Linked DNA regions of Homo sapiens: regions 1 and 3 are each linked to region 2. Evidence: promoter capture Hi-C in human tissues and cell types (Jung and others, 2019). All regions are on one chromosome and are shown on one strand. Each heading gives the region's core, a stretch centred on a gene start or on the middle of the fragment in contact. The rest is flanking DNA. Distances are from core to core; before and after follow the strand shown.

The links. Contacts are between HindIII fragments. The study calls those that stand out against the background at their distance.
Region 1: a fragment that was not itself captured here is called in contact with the fragment with the promoter of ANKRD11 in region 2 in 10 of the 25 tissues and cell types used here (IMR-90 fibroblasts, adrenal gland, dorsolateral prefrontal cortex and 7 more).
Region 3: a contact is called between a fragment that was not itself captured here and the fragment with the promoter of ANKRD11 in region 2, in 2 of the 25 tissues and cell types used here (adrenal gland and dorsolateral prefrontal cortex).

Annotation. Positions count from the first base shown.
Region 1 is chr16:89,409,354-89,413,074 of GRCh38, forward strand. The region is part of intron 2 of ANKRD11 (ankyrin repeat domain containing 11); the gene reads right to left. All of the region lies in intron 1 of LOC128462377, which reads right to left. Among named protein-coding and RNA genes, the nearest start is that of ANKRD11, 79 kb to the right of the region's middle. RefSeq lists an enhancer at 1,737-2,006. The HindIII fragment of the contact is 9,369 bases long and covers 1-3,721 here.
Region 2 is chr16:89,489,078-89,492,760 of GRCh38, forward strand. It overlaps ANKRD11 (ankyrin repeat domain containing 11), which reads right to left and starts at 1,484. Exons shown (of 13, transcript NM_013275.6): 1 at 1,168-1,484. It overlaps LOC101930112 (a long non-coding RNA gene), which reads left to right and starts at 1,893. Exons shown (of 2, transcript XR_933895.4): 1 at 1,893-2,309. LOC101927863 (a long non-coding RNA gene) reads right to left here. Exons shown (of 5, transcript NR_188547.1): 5 at 3,326-3,556. RefSeq lists enhancers at 30-543, 544-1,058 and silencers at 340-409, 450-559, 640-689, 1,264-1,743, 1,944-2,033 and 1 more. The HindIII fragment of the contact is 15,043 bases long and covers 1-3,683 here.
Region 3 is chr16:89,376,642-89,380,433 of GRCh38, forward strand. The region is part of intron 2 of ANKRD11 (ankyrin repeat domain containing 11); the gene reads right to left. All of the region lies in intron 1 of LOC128462377, which reads right to left. Among named protein-coding and RNA genes, the nearest start is that of ANKRD11, 110 kb to the right of the region's middle. The HindIII fragment of the contact is 8,223 bases long and covers 1-3,792 here.

The sequences.
Region 1 (3,721 bases), core at 209-2,708, 80 kb before region 2:
TATCAACAGGGGTGGGGTGGGAAGGCGGTCCCCATCCTCAGGCCATTCTTCCTCCGTGGGTTGCAGCCAGGGTTTCCTGTGGGTCGTCTTGTGCACGTCACGGCCCTGCCCACAGCATAAAAACATACAGGTGTGAGGGAGATGAGCAAGACAGCTAGCTTTTCACAAGAGCAGGAAAGGCTGGGTGCTGCGACTCACGCCTGTAATCACACAGCGTTGGGAGGCAGAGGAGGAAGGACTGCTTAAGGCCAGGAGTTCCAGGCCAGTCTGAGCAACATAGCAAGATCCTGTTGTACCAAAACACACACACACACGAAAACTGGTTGTCGTGTTACTAAAAGTTTCCATTACAACACTGAAGTTTAGAATACAGTATTACTAGGCCAAAATATCCTGGCATTTTATAGGATTTCTTTAACAAAATCTGATCACATCTAAACTGGCATCTTTCTGCTCACTTCTCAATTTCAATCTAAATTTATTTATTTATTTATTTATTTTTTGAGATGGGAGTCTCGCTCTGTCGCCCAGGCTGGAGTGTAGTGGCACAATCTCAACTCACTGCAAGCTCCGCCTCCCGGGTTCACGCCATTCTCCTGCCTCAGCCTCCTGAGTAGCTGGGACTACAGGCGCCCGCCACCACGCCCGGCTAATTTTTTGTATTTTTAGTAGAGACGGGTTTTCACGGTGTGAGCCAGGATGGTCTCGATCTCCTGACCTCGTGATCCGCCCGCCTCGGCCTCCCAAAGTGCTGGGATTACAGGCGTGAGCCACCGCGTCCAGCCTCAATCTAAATTTAAAACACAGTTTGCTGTTCAGCTACAGGGCAGAATTTCACACGGAGCAGGCACCTCACAGATGCCAACCCGGTGGGTACGGCCCTTTGAGTGTCACCTAAAGCCTCATAACATCATCACCAAGCCCATCCCCAAAAGCTGTAGTTAGTAAGCCACCAGGATTTGATATTTAGAAACTTTTCCCACTAACAAAAAACAAGCAAGAATAAATTTTAAACAAAGGCTGACTGTACCAAGGAAATGGAGATAATAAACAGAAAAAGACTCATGGACACTGGTGTTGGGAGTGATGGTCTTAGCCCTCAGACCAGACTAAGACACCCTGCAGAGCTGAGGCTGTCAGGAACCACGCAGAGCCACGGAAGGGAAACACCTGCCCCCGGGCTACAAAGGCCACCCTCTGCCCTCTGCTTACTGCTCTGGTTCTGCCCTCCAGACACAAGCAGGTCCCTAAAGCAGTTGCTATCCTGCTGACGTGCTGACACCATCAGATATGAACAAGAATCCCAGTTTTATTTTTCCTAATAAATAAATCATCCATTTAGCAAAACGTCAACGATACCAAAAGCTATGAAAGCATCCTTGGATTTACAAAGAACCCTCGCTTCTCATTTCCCTTATTTTCCCATGCCCAGGCAGAGAGCCCTCTAAGCCCATGGGAAGCTTAACAGAAGGGGGTGGGGAGTGGCCAACTGTGGCCAGGGCAAGACAGAAACCACATGTGCGTGAACACGTGTTCTACACAGAGCCTTATGTACTGGGCCACAGAATAAGCAGAGCTGGGCAGCTCCTGCTGCCAAAGTCAACATGTTCAGGCTGCCCGGCCTCCACAGGCGCTTTCCTGAAAGCTGCCTGCAGAGAGAAGGGTGGCCAGGGCAGGAGGCAGGATCCTGAAGCTGCCTGCAGAGGGAGGGGCGGCCAGTGCAGGAGGCAGGTTCCTGAAGCTGCCTGCAGAGAGAAGGGTGGCCAGGGCAGAAGGCAGCAGCACAGGGGCTCGGGCCCACGCTGGCTGTCCACACCCAGGGCCACGCCTCCATGACGGTGCCCTCCACCACATCCCCTCTCGTGTGTGCTGGTGCCACCACGGGGGCCCAGGGACCTTTTTGCTCTACTTCTCTTTCAAACTTGCAGCCCTGTGCCAGCAGCCAGCACTGCCTTCAGAATCCCTGCACACAGCGGTGGGAAACCTTGACTGCACCGGAAGAGGAGCAGGCTGCCCTGGCTGGGCCAGACGCTACACATCTTGCTGTCGAGATGGTCTACATTTCTTCCTTTTTTCTTTTTCTTGTAATCCTTCTGTCACCTAGAGCTGGAGTGCAGTGGTGTGATCATAGCTCACTACAACCTCTGCCTCCCGAGCTCAAGAGATCCTCCTACCTCAACCTCCTGAGTAACCATGACGACAGGCACACACAACCACGCCTGGCTAATTTTTGTATTTTTTGGAGAGATGGGGTCTTGCCACGTTGCCCAGGCTGGTCTCGAACTCCTGACCTCAGGCAATCCTCCCACCTCAGCCTCCCAGAGTGCTGGGATTACGGCCAGTTTACATTCGGAACCCACCACTATCCCCTTGTTGACAGTAAGCACATCCCAAATCATTTTTCCCAATGGACAACACAAATAAATAATTAAGATCCTTATTCTAGAGTGGGGAAAAAAAGAGACTAGAATTCTCAGCAGAACTTGAGGAATCCAATGGCCAGTAACGAAGATGCCTCCCAGAGTCTCCTGGCCATGTTCCATCCCTCCCCTCAGCCAGGTACTGGGGTGAGATGCCTCCCAGAGTCTCCTGGCCGTGCCCCATCCCTCCCCTCAGCCAGGTACTGGGCTGAGATGCCTCCCAGAGTCTCCTGGCCGTGCCCCATCCCTCCCCTCAGCCAGGTACTGGGCTGAGATGTCTCCCAGAGTCTCCTGGCCGTGCCCCATCCCTCCCCTCAGCCAGCTACTGGGCTGAGATGCCTCCCAGAGTCTCCTGGCCGTGCCCCATCCCTCCCCTCAGCCAGGTACTGGGCTGAGATGCCTCCCAGAGTCTCCTGGCCGTGCCCCATCCCTCCCCTCAGCCAGGTACTGGGCTGAGATGCCTCCCAGAGTCTCCTGGCCGTGCCCCATCCCTCCCCTCAGCCAGGTACTGGGCTGAGATGCCTCCCAGAGTCTCCTGGCCGTGCCCCATCCCTCCCCTCAGCCAGGTACTGGGCTGAGATGCCTCCCAGAGTCTCCTGGCCGTGCCCCATCCCTCCCCTCAGCCAGGTACTGGGGTGCTCAGGCCACACCGGACCCTCCATCTCCTTCCTCCTACCTTCCTCTTCTTCTCAACAAAATCTAAGCAAGTTGTAAATGGGCCTTCTGGTGGCAATGATGTATTAAGACACGCAGAGCCCTTACCCCATTTGCTACAGGAACCCAATTACATCTGGGAAGAAACAAGCAGGACAGGAAAAAGGTACATTGGTGTTTTTGCATCCATAAAGTTCACTTCAATTTAAATAGAACTTACTGAGTACTCTTTTGCTAGATCCAGGCAAAATGTTTTTCACCCTCAGATACAAAAACATAGAGGAAAAAATTCCCTTAAGCCAGCTGTAAAAAATGATGGTATTAAAAAAATAAAACACTGGCCCCATGAGAATCACTGTAGTTAACAAAAGAAATACAGTAACCGCAATATTATAACCTACAAACAAAAAGCCATTCTCAGTCCCCCAGCAGGACCTCTCCATGCCTCCCAGGTCAGCAGAGGACAGAGGACAGCAGAGGTCACAGGTCAGCAGAGGTCCCAGCACTCAGAGCCGGATTCCAGCTAAAAGCACACATGAGGGAAAACAGCTGACAGCCAGAGCTCCCAATGGGGAGCTCCAATGTTCCAAACCCTCCCCCAGGCCCTGGGACTCTCTGCCCATCAACCAGAGCCTGGAGGGGGAGGG
Region 2 (3,683 bases), core at 234-2,733:
ACCAGGAAAAGAGCAAGCCTCGAGAAAAATCAAGACTCCCCCCGACCAACCTTCCCAAATAACACAAACACAAGAGTTAACAGTACAATCCCTCTTTGAGAGGGGACTGAATCAATGTGGCAGGGCCAACCCTACACACACACACACACGCGCGCGCGCGCGCGCGCGCACACACATACACCACACACACAGCTACCGCCCTGCCAGGGGATGATGAAATGAGGAACGGAAATTAACATTTCAGGCAACGTCTCACATTGTTCCTTGAGGCCAAGGGCTGCTGTTGCAGCCGCCACCGCCACCGCTTTCCTCCCAGCCACCCCCCACACCCGCCCGCCTACCCTCCCCCTAACACCCCCCACACGGCTGCCCGCATTCCTGCCCCTCCTCGGCCTACGCGCGCCTCCTGCAACCCCGACGCCCCCAGGTCCCCAGTTCGCCCTCCCCCTCCGGCTCGGAGCCCGAGAGCCGCCTGCTCTCATTTCAAAACAGCGATAATAATAGGGACGCTGAGAATAACAACTACGACCAGCACGGCGAAGGCGCCCCTCTCGCGGGTCAGAGGTCGGCGCCCCAGCTCCGCAGAACCCGGCGCCCGGCCAGCGCCCCCTGGCAGCCCCTCCCGGCAGCCTCAGGTCCCCAAGACCTGCAGGCCCGCCCCGAAGCCCCCCGTCCGCCCCTCACGGCCGCTCCGAGCCCCCGAGGCCCGCCCCGGAGCCCCCTGTCCGCCTCTCACGGCCGCCCCGGGCCCCCACGGCCCCCAGGCCCGCCCCGGAGCCCCCAATCGGCCCCTCAGAGCCGCCGCGGGCCCCCGGCCACCCAGGCCCGCCCGGAGCCCCCGTCCGCCCCTTACGGCCGACCCAAGCTCCGCCGACCTCCCAGGCCCCCCCCGGAGCCCCCTATGGGCCCCTCACGGCCACCCCGGGCCCCCAAAGACCCCCGGCTGCCCCGAACCCGGACCCGTAGGCCCGCTCCGGGACCCATTATTGGTCCCTCACGATCGCCCCGGGCCCCCAAAGACCCCCGCCCACCCGGCCCCGACCCCCCAGGCCCGCCCGGAGGCCCGCGGCGCAGCTCCGTCGCCGGGGAAGGCCTGCAGGCCGCAAGGCCGCGCGAATGCCCCGTGCCCGCCCCGACCACCGCCCCCAGACCAGCGGCGCCTCTCACCGTGCTCCGAGGGCTGCGCGGCTCCGCGACGGCTCAGCGGCGGGGCGCGGGCGCTGCCCATGCAGCCCGCGGCCGCGTTTCCCGGGCCGCGCGGCCCGAGCGGCAAGGCGGCGGCGGCGGCGGCGCGGGCTCGGGCCCGGCAGAGCTGCGAGGGACGGCGGGAGGCGAGCCCGCCCCTCGGGCGCGCCCACGGCTCGGGCGAGAGCCGCGGCTCCCGGTGCGGACGCTACTGATGGGGCGTCTGGCCGCGGGCTCGGCGGCGGCGCCTCCCCGGCTGGGGCCCTCGGTCCATCGCGCACCGTCTCAGGGCGGCCTCTGGCTCCAGGACCCAGCGGCGGCTGCGGCGGGAGCCGGCCGCATGAGACGCTCCCGCCCATTGGCCCGCCGTATCCGCCACCGCCATTGGCCCGCCCCGGCCGGCCGCAGGGGCTGTGCACGTCACAGCGCCGTGAGTTAGTGCGCTAATGGAGTGAAGGAGAGAGGCGGGATTGACAGCCTCTCTGGCGGTCCGGAGGCGGGACTAGGAGGACGTCCCGGTAACGATTGGGCAGGGTCCTGCGTAAGGGCGCATGCGACACTGGAAGTAGCGAGCAACTGGATTGGCTGCCTCCGTCGCAAAGGAGGGTGGGTCTTGCATTCTCGGGCCTGACGATTGGTCTTTCCAAGTGCCGGAAGCAACAGGGATGTCGTCTGGAAACAAAATCTGGTATTGAAGCGCAGGGAGACAAAACGTCCACCTCTAGAGCCGAGGCGGCGGTTGCCTGTCGCGTGCCCGTGGTCTTCTGCCTGCCCCCGGACATCTCGGGCCACGTCCGGCCCGGCCTCCGGCCGCGCTGCCCTAACGGGCGTCACGGGGCATGAAGAGCTCTGGGCGGCTGCGAGGGGAGGGTACCGGGGCAGCGGGGCGGTCGCTCGGGGCTCCCGCGCGGTGACTCTTGCTCTGCCGTCGAAGAGAACGGCCCTCGGGCGCGTCGCGGCCGCGGCTCCAGAGCCCCTGGGCCTCGCGCTCTGAGAGCCTGAGCCGCTTGAGGAGGCCAAGCGCCCACGAACCGCATTCCCTGCCTTGCTAGTTAGTTCTCCAACACGCGAAAAAGGTAGACGAGGACTGGTTTTCTTTGCAGCTAAAATGAATCAAGCCTCTGGTAAGTGTGGATCCTGTTCTAAGTGCACCTGTGTTCTCCTCCAGAACTAAACCAAAAAGCAAGGTGAACAAAATCGGTGCTCCTTCAGTTTCTTCTTTAGTTCTGCATGTTACTGGGGACTAAGACAACGGGTAAGCAAACTATTTATAGGCCTCAATTTACGAAATAACGGAATTGCAAAGTCCGGAGTGGATAGGACCGTGAGGACGGTCTTTTTTCTTGGGCAACACGCATTATGGTCGAGAGATCAGTTGTTAAACCGCCCCTGTTCAAATCCCAGCCCTACCAGTGACTAGCGGTCACCCTGTAGGCTTTGTCTCTCAGATCTTCAGTTTCTTGGTGGGTAAAATGGGAACTACAAGTAGCACCTATTCTTTTTTTTTTTTTTTTTTGAGTCAGGGTCTCACTCTGTCGCCCATGCTGGAGTGCAGTGCTAACTGCAGCCTCAGCTTCCCGGGCTCAGAGGATCCTCCCACCTTAGCCTACTAAGTAGGTGGGACCACAGTCAGGCATCACCACACCCGGCTAATTTTTTAAATTTTCGTAGAGATAGGCTCTCTGTGTGTTTCCCAGGCTGGTCTTGAAATCCTGGACTCAAGCGACCCTCCCTCCTCAGCTTCCCAAAGTGCTGGGATTAGAGGCATGAGCCACGGTGCGGGCCAGGAGCACCTATTTCATAGGCCCATCGGGAAGATTAAATGAAGGGGCTGTGGAGGCTGTAGCACGGTGCTTGGCACGTATGTGAGCTCTGGGGAAACATTAGTTATGCTATAACTGGACCTTCAGCCTTCTCTAGGCAGCCAGATTTCGGGCTCCACCCACAACTAGTCACGCCATTGGATGAGGGGTGAGCGCCTGATAAAAACAGCCGGCGTATGCGCTGATGTGCGTTCACGAAGAGGTGATCCAAGTGTTTCCATATTTGCCTCACTGGACGAAGTATTTGGTAAAATTGACGAAATTCAGAGTCCTGGACCCCATCATCACCTATGGAATTATTCTAGATGAGAGGGGACTAGGCATTGGCATTTTTTTATTTTGGTCCCTTACAATACTCATCATTGGGAAAATTTGAAAAACATCAACCTAAGCCGTCATGCTCGCACTCGAGAATGTTTCCCCTAGGCTGATTGACGGGCAGTGGTATTCACAGGTGCGGTCAGCGCAGTCCAGCTTCAAACTTCCGGGGATCAAGTGATCCTCCCGCCTGAGGAGCTGAGATTACAGGCCTGCACCACCATGCTCATCTATCAGGGGAATTTAAAGTGCAAAATATTAATATGAGTAAGCAGGCAGTTGGCCTTCGAAACAGAATCTGAAAATACACTAAGGTAAAAGCAAACTGAATTTCGACAGAAGTAGAACGTGTATGGT
Region 3 (3,792 bases), core at 1,145-3,644, 110 kb before region 2:
TTGGCCAGGCTGGTCTCAAACTTCTGACCTCAAGCGATCCACCCACCTTGGCCTCCCTAAGTGCTGGGATTACAGGCGTGCGCCACCACGCCTGGCCCTGCCTGAACAGGTTTTGAATGCAGGTGAAACTCCCCTATTCTGGCGAAAAAAATCCTGTAAGAACATTTGTTAGTAAGAAAGAGAAGCGAGCACTGGGATAGAAGGCAAGAAGGGATAAGCTAATGCTACTGTTTTGTGCAAATGCAGTAGGGTTTATGATAAGGACTGCCTTTATCTATAAAGCTGCCTACCTCAGAACCTTGAAGGGAAAAGATAAACACCAGCTGCCAGGTATTTGGTTTTGCAACAAGGCTGGAAAGAACCCCTTTTTCCGGACTGCTTCCATTGATGCTTTGTCCGTGAAGTCAGGAAGTACCTTGCCTTGCCAGTAAGGAACTGCCTTAAATGTTCTTTTGACAATGAACAATGCCCTTGGTCCCCCAGAACCCCGTGAGTTCAACAGCAGAGGCGTCAACGTGGTCTTCCTGTCCCCAAACACAGCGTATCTAATTCAGCCTCTAGATCGGGGTCATAGGACCTGTAAGGCTCATTACACACAGCATGCTATGGAAAGGACTGTCAACATGGGAGAGAGAGAGAGAGAGCATCATGAGTGTCTGGAAGATGACACCATGAAAGATGCCATCATTGTTATAGAGAAAGCCATGAAAGCTGTCAAACCCAAAACAATGAACTCCTGCTGGAGAAAACTATGTCTGGAGGTTGTGTGTGATTCCACAGGGTTTACAACAGCCAATCAAGGAGATCATGAAGAGACTGCGGACATGTGGGCCGGGGCAGGAGGGCTGGGGGGCGGGGAGGGATGAAGGGTTTCATTTCAAAACTCAAGAGCTAAGAGATACCACACCAGAGAAATTAGAAGACAACCTGGTGGTGATGAGTGCTTCTGACCCACACCAGGTGACGAGGAGGAGGTAGCAGCAGTGACAGAAAACAAAGTGACATCAGACACTCCTGCAGAGGGGAGGGGTTCCCACGACTCCCACCCGCTTTTAACTTCTTGTACAACACACACCTGTCTGTGACATGGGCACTGAAACTAAAGCCAACAGTGAGGGAGGACTGTGACCATACAGGAACATTTCTAGAGAAATGACAAAGCACTTCGTAAGTTACACCAAATGCGCCTGCCTCTCCTGCCTCCCCTTCTACCTCTTCCACCCCCGCCCCATGAGAACAGCATGACCACCCCTCCTCCTTCTACTCAATGAAATGATGAGGATGAAGACCTTCATGATGACCCACTTCCACTTAATGAGAAGTAAACATATTTTCTCTTCCTTATGATTTTCTTAACAACACCTTCTTTTCTCTAGCTTACTTTACTGTAAGAATACAGTATACAATACATACGACATATAAAATATGAGGGGCATGGTGGCTCACACTTATAATCCCAGTGCACTGGGAGGCCGAGGCGGAAGGATCACTTGAGCCCAGCAGTTTGAGACCAGCCTGGGCAACATGGCAAGCGAGACTCTGTCTCTTTAAGAAGCGGGAAAAAAAGTGCTTTGTATATGTCAGTGTTGGATTAAAATGTGTTGACTGTTTATGTGATCAGGAAGGCACTGGTCAACAAAATTAAATACTCGGGGTATAAAAGGTTATATGTGGACTTGACTGTACCAGGGGTCAGTGCCACTAATCCCCAAGTTGTTCAAGGACCAAACATATATAATGATTTCATCAACGTGTATGTCAACCATATTGATTAGGTCAATATTGATTTGTAATTCTTGATAATAATTTCAAATCATGGCATTGAAGCCTAACCACAAAAACCTCCTCAGAAAATAGCAAAAACGTAGAGCTTTAAAGATATTAAGCTAAATGTACGTGCTATAAGGCTACAGATACAGCAGGCTGGAAATAGTCTGGCTGAGAACACACAACTGGCCAGCATGACTAGCAAGTGCTCAAGTAGCTTCTCTTGTTTGAAGACACTGGTGTACACAAAGATTTCTGCCTCCTGGGTTCAAGCAATTCTCCTGTCTCAGCCTCCCGAGTAGCTGGGATTACAGGTGTGTGCCACCATGCCTGGCTAATTTTTTGTCTGTGTATTTTAGTAGAGACGGGGTTTCATCATGTTGGCCAGGCTGGTCTCAAACTTCAGGCGCTGTGGTTTAAAACTCTTTTATCCATGTTTTAAGGGGTTGATGGGTGGGGCGAGGTGGGGAAGGGCTTTCCAAGGCTGAAAACCTCTTCAGGGGTTGGTGGGTGGGGCGAGGTGGGAAGGGCTTTCCAAGGCTGAAGACCTTTTTGGGTCAAGGTTCTGACGGCACACTGGGGAGCGTCAAGACGCCTCCTGCAGTCGTAGACAAGCCGGGCTGAGGCATTCACTGTCGCTTAGAACTGAAAACTTAGGGTCGTCCATGCCCAGAACGTCGGCAGTGCGGACCAGCCCCAGGAAGGCCTTTCTCACTGGCTTCTAGAAGGTGGGGCCGGCCCCCATGCCTGCCCCGGCACACGGCCATTCTGGGAGCTGCTGGCAGCCGGCGGGCTAGAAGGGGTGCACACCGTCTGTATGTGCGTCACAGGCTCATGCTTTTTTAATCCTATCTTGAAAACTTAGGGCTTTCTCACAAAGACCTTGTGCCAGTTCCTAAGTGGAACAACAATTTTATAAAATAATTTTAAATGGCTCAAATCAAGTGTTACCAGTGAACGGGGCTTTCATTATATGTCGAAAGCTGACCATGGGGAACAGGCCCACAGGGGCCTCCTGCTCCACACCCTGTCAGGGCATCCAAAACCAGCTCATGTAACTCTGCTTTCCAGGAGTCCAACTTGAACATTTTTTTAAAGAGACAAAGTCTTGCTCTGTCGCCCAGACAGAGCTCAGTCACGGCTCACTGCAGCCTCAACCTCCTGGGCTCAAGTGACACTTCTGCCTCAGCCTCCTGGCTCCAACTTGAGCTTACAGTTTTCTGCTCCACCACTGCTCTCTGCCTCCCACCTCCAGGTGACTGGGACGCGAGCGCCCCAAGCAGCACGGAAGAGCTCCGTGCAGTGCACGGATTTGCGAAGAACGTGTTGGTTCTTGTGATTCACAAAGAACTTGGACTGAGTACAACGGGCAAAGAAGATGTCAGCTGTATTTTTAACATTCTGTTCAGCAAGAAGAGTATACATAATAATTTCCCAAAAAATATAATTTTTGAAAATGCAGAAAAATAAAAAATTTAGAAAGAAATACATGGCTGCAGACACTGACCTTTTCAGTTTTCCAATCATCATTTCTCAAAACACACACTTTCATCTCTATTTACCAAACACTATTTTCTGCATCTCCAAACCCCTCAAGCTTCAGTCCAGGTCCAAGTATCAATGGGTATATATGAAGCTCCTCTGCCACCAGAAATTCACTATGGAAAGATGTTATTTCTGGTACCCCAGTTGCAAAACAATGATGCCTGTTTTTTTCTTTTTGAGACAGAGTCTCATTCTGTCACCCAGGCTGGAGAGCGATGGCGTGATCTCGGCTCACTTCAACACCCACTTCACAGGTTCAAGCAATTCTCCTGTCTCTGCCCCCCGAGTAGTTGGTATTACAGGCATGTGCCACGACGCCTGGCTAATTCTGTATTTTTAGTAGAGATGGGGTTTCTCCATGTTGGCCAAGCTGGTCTCAAACTCCTGACCTCAGGTGATCCACCCACCTCGGCCTCCCAAAGTGCTGGGATTACAGGTGTGAGCCACTGTGCCCAGCCCAATGATGCCATTTTAACTCCT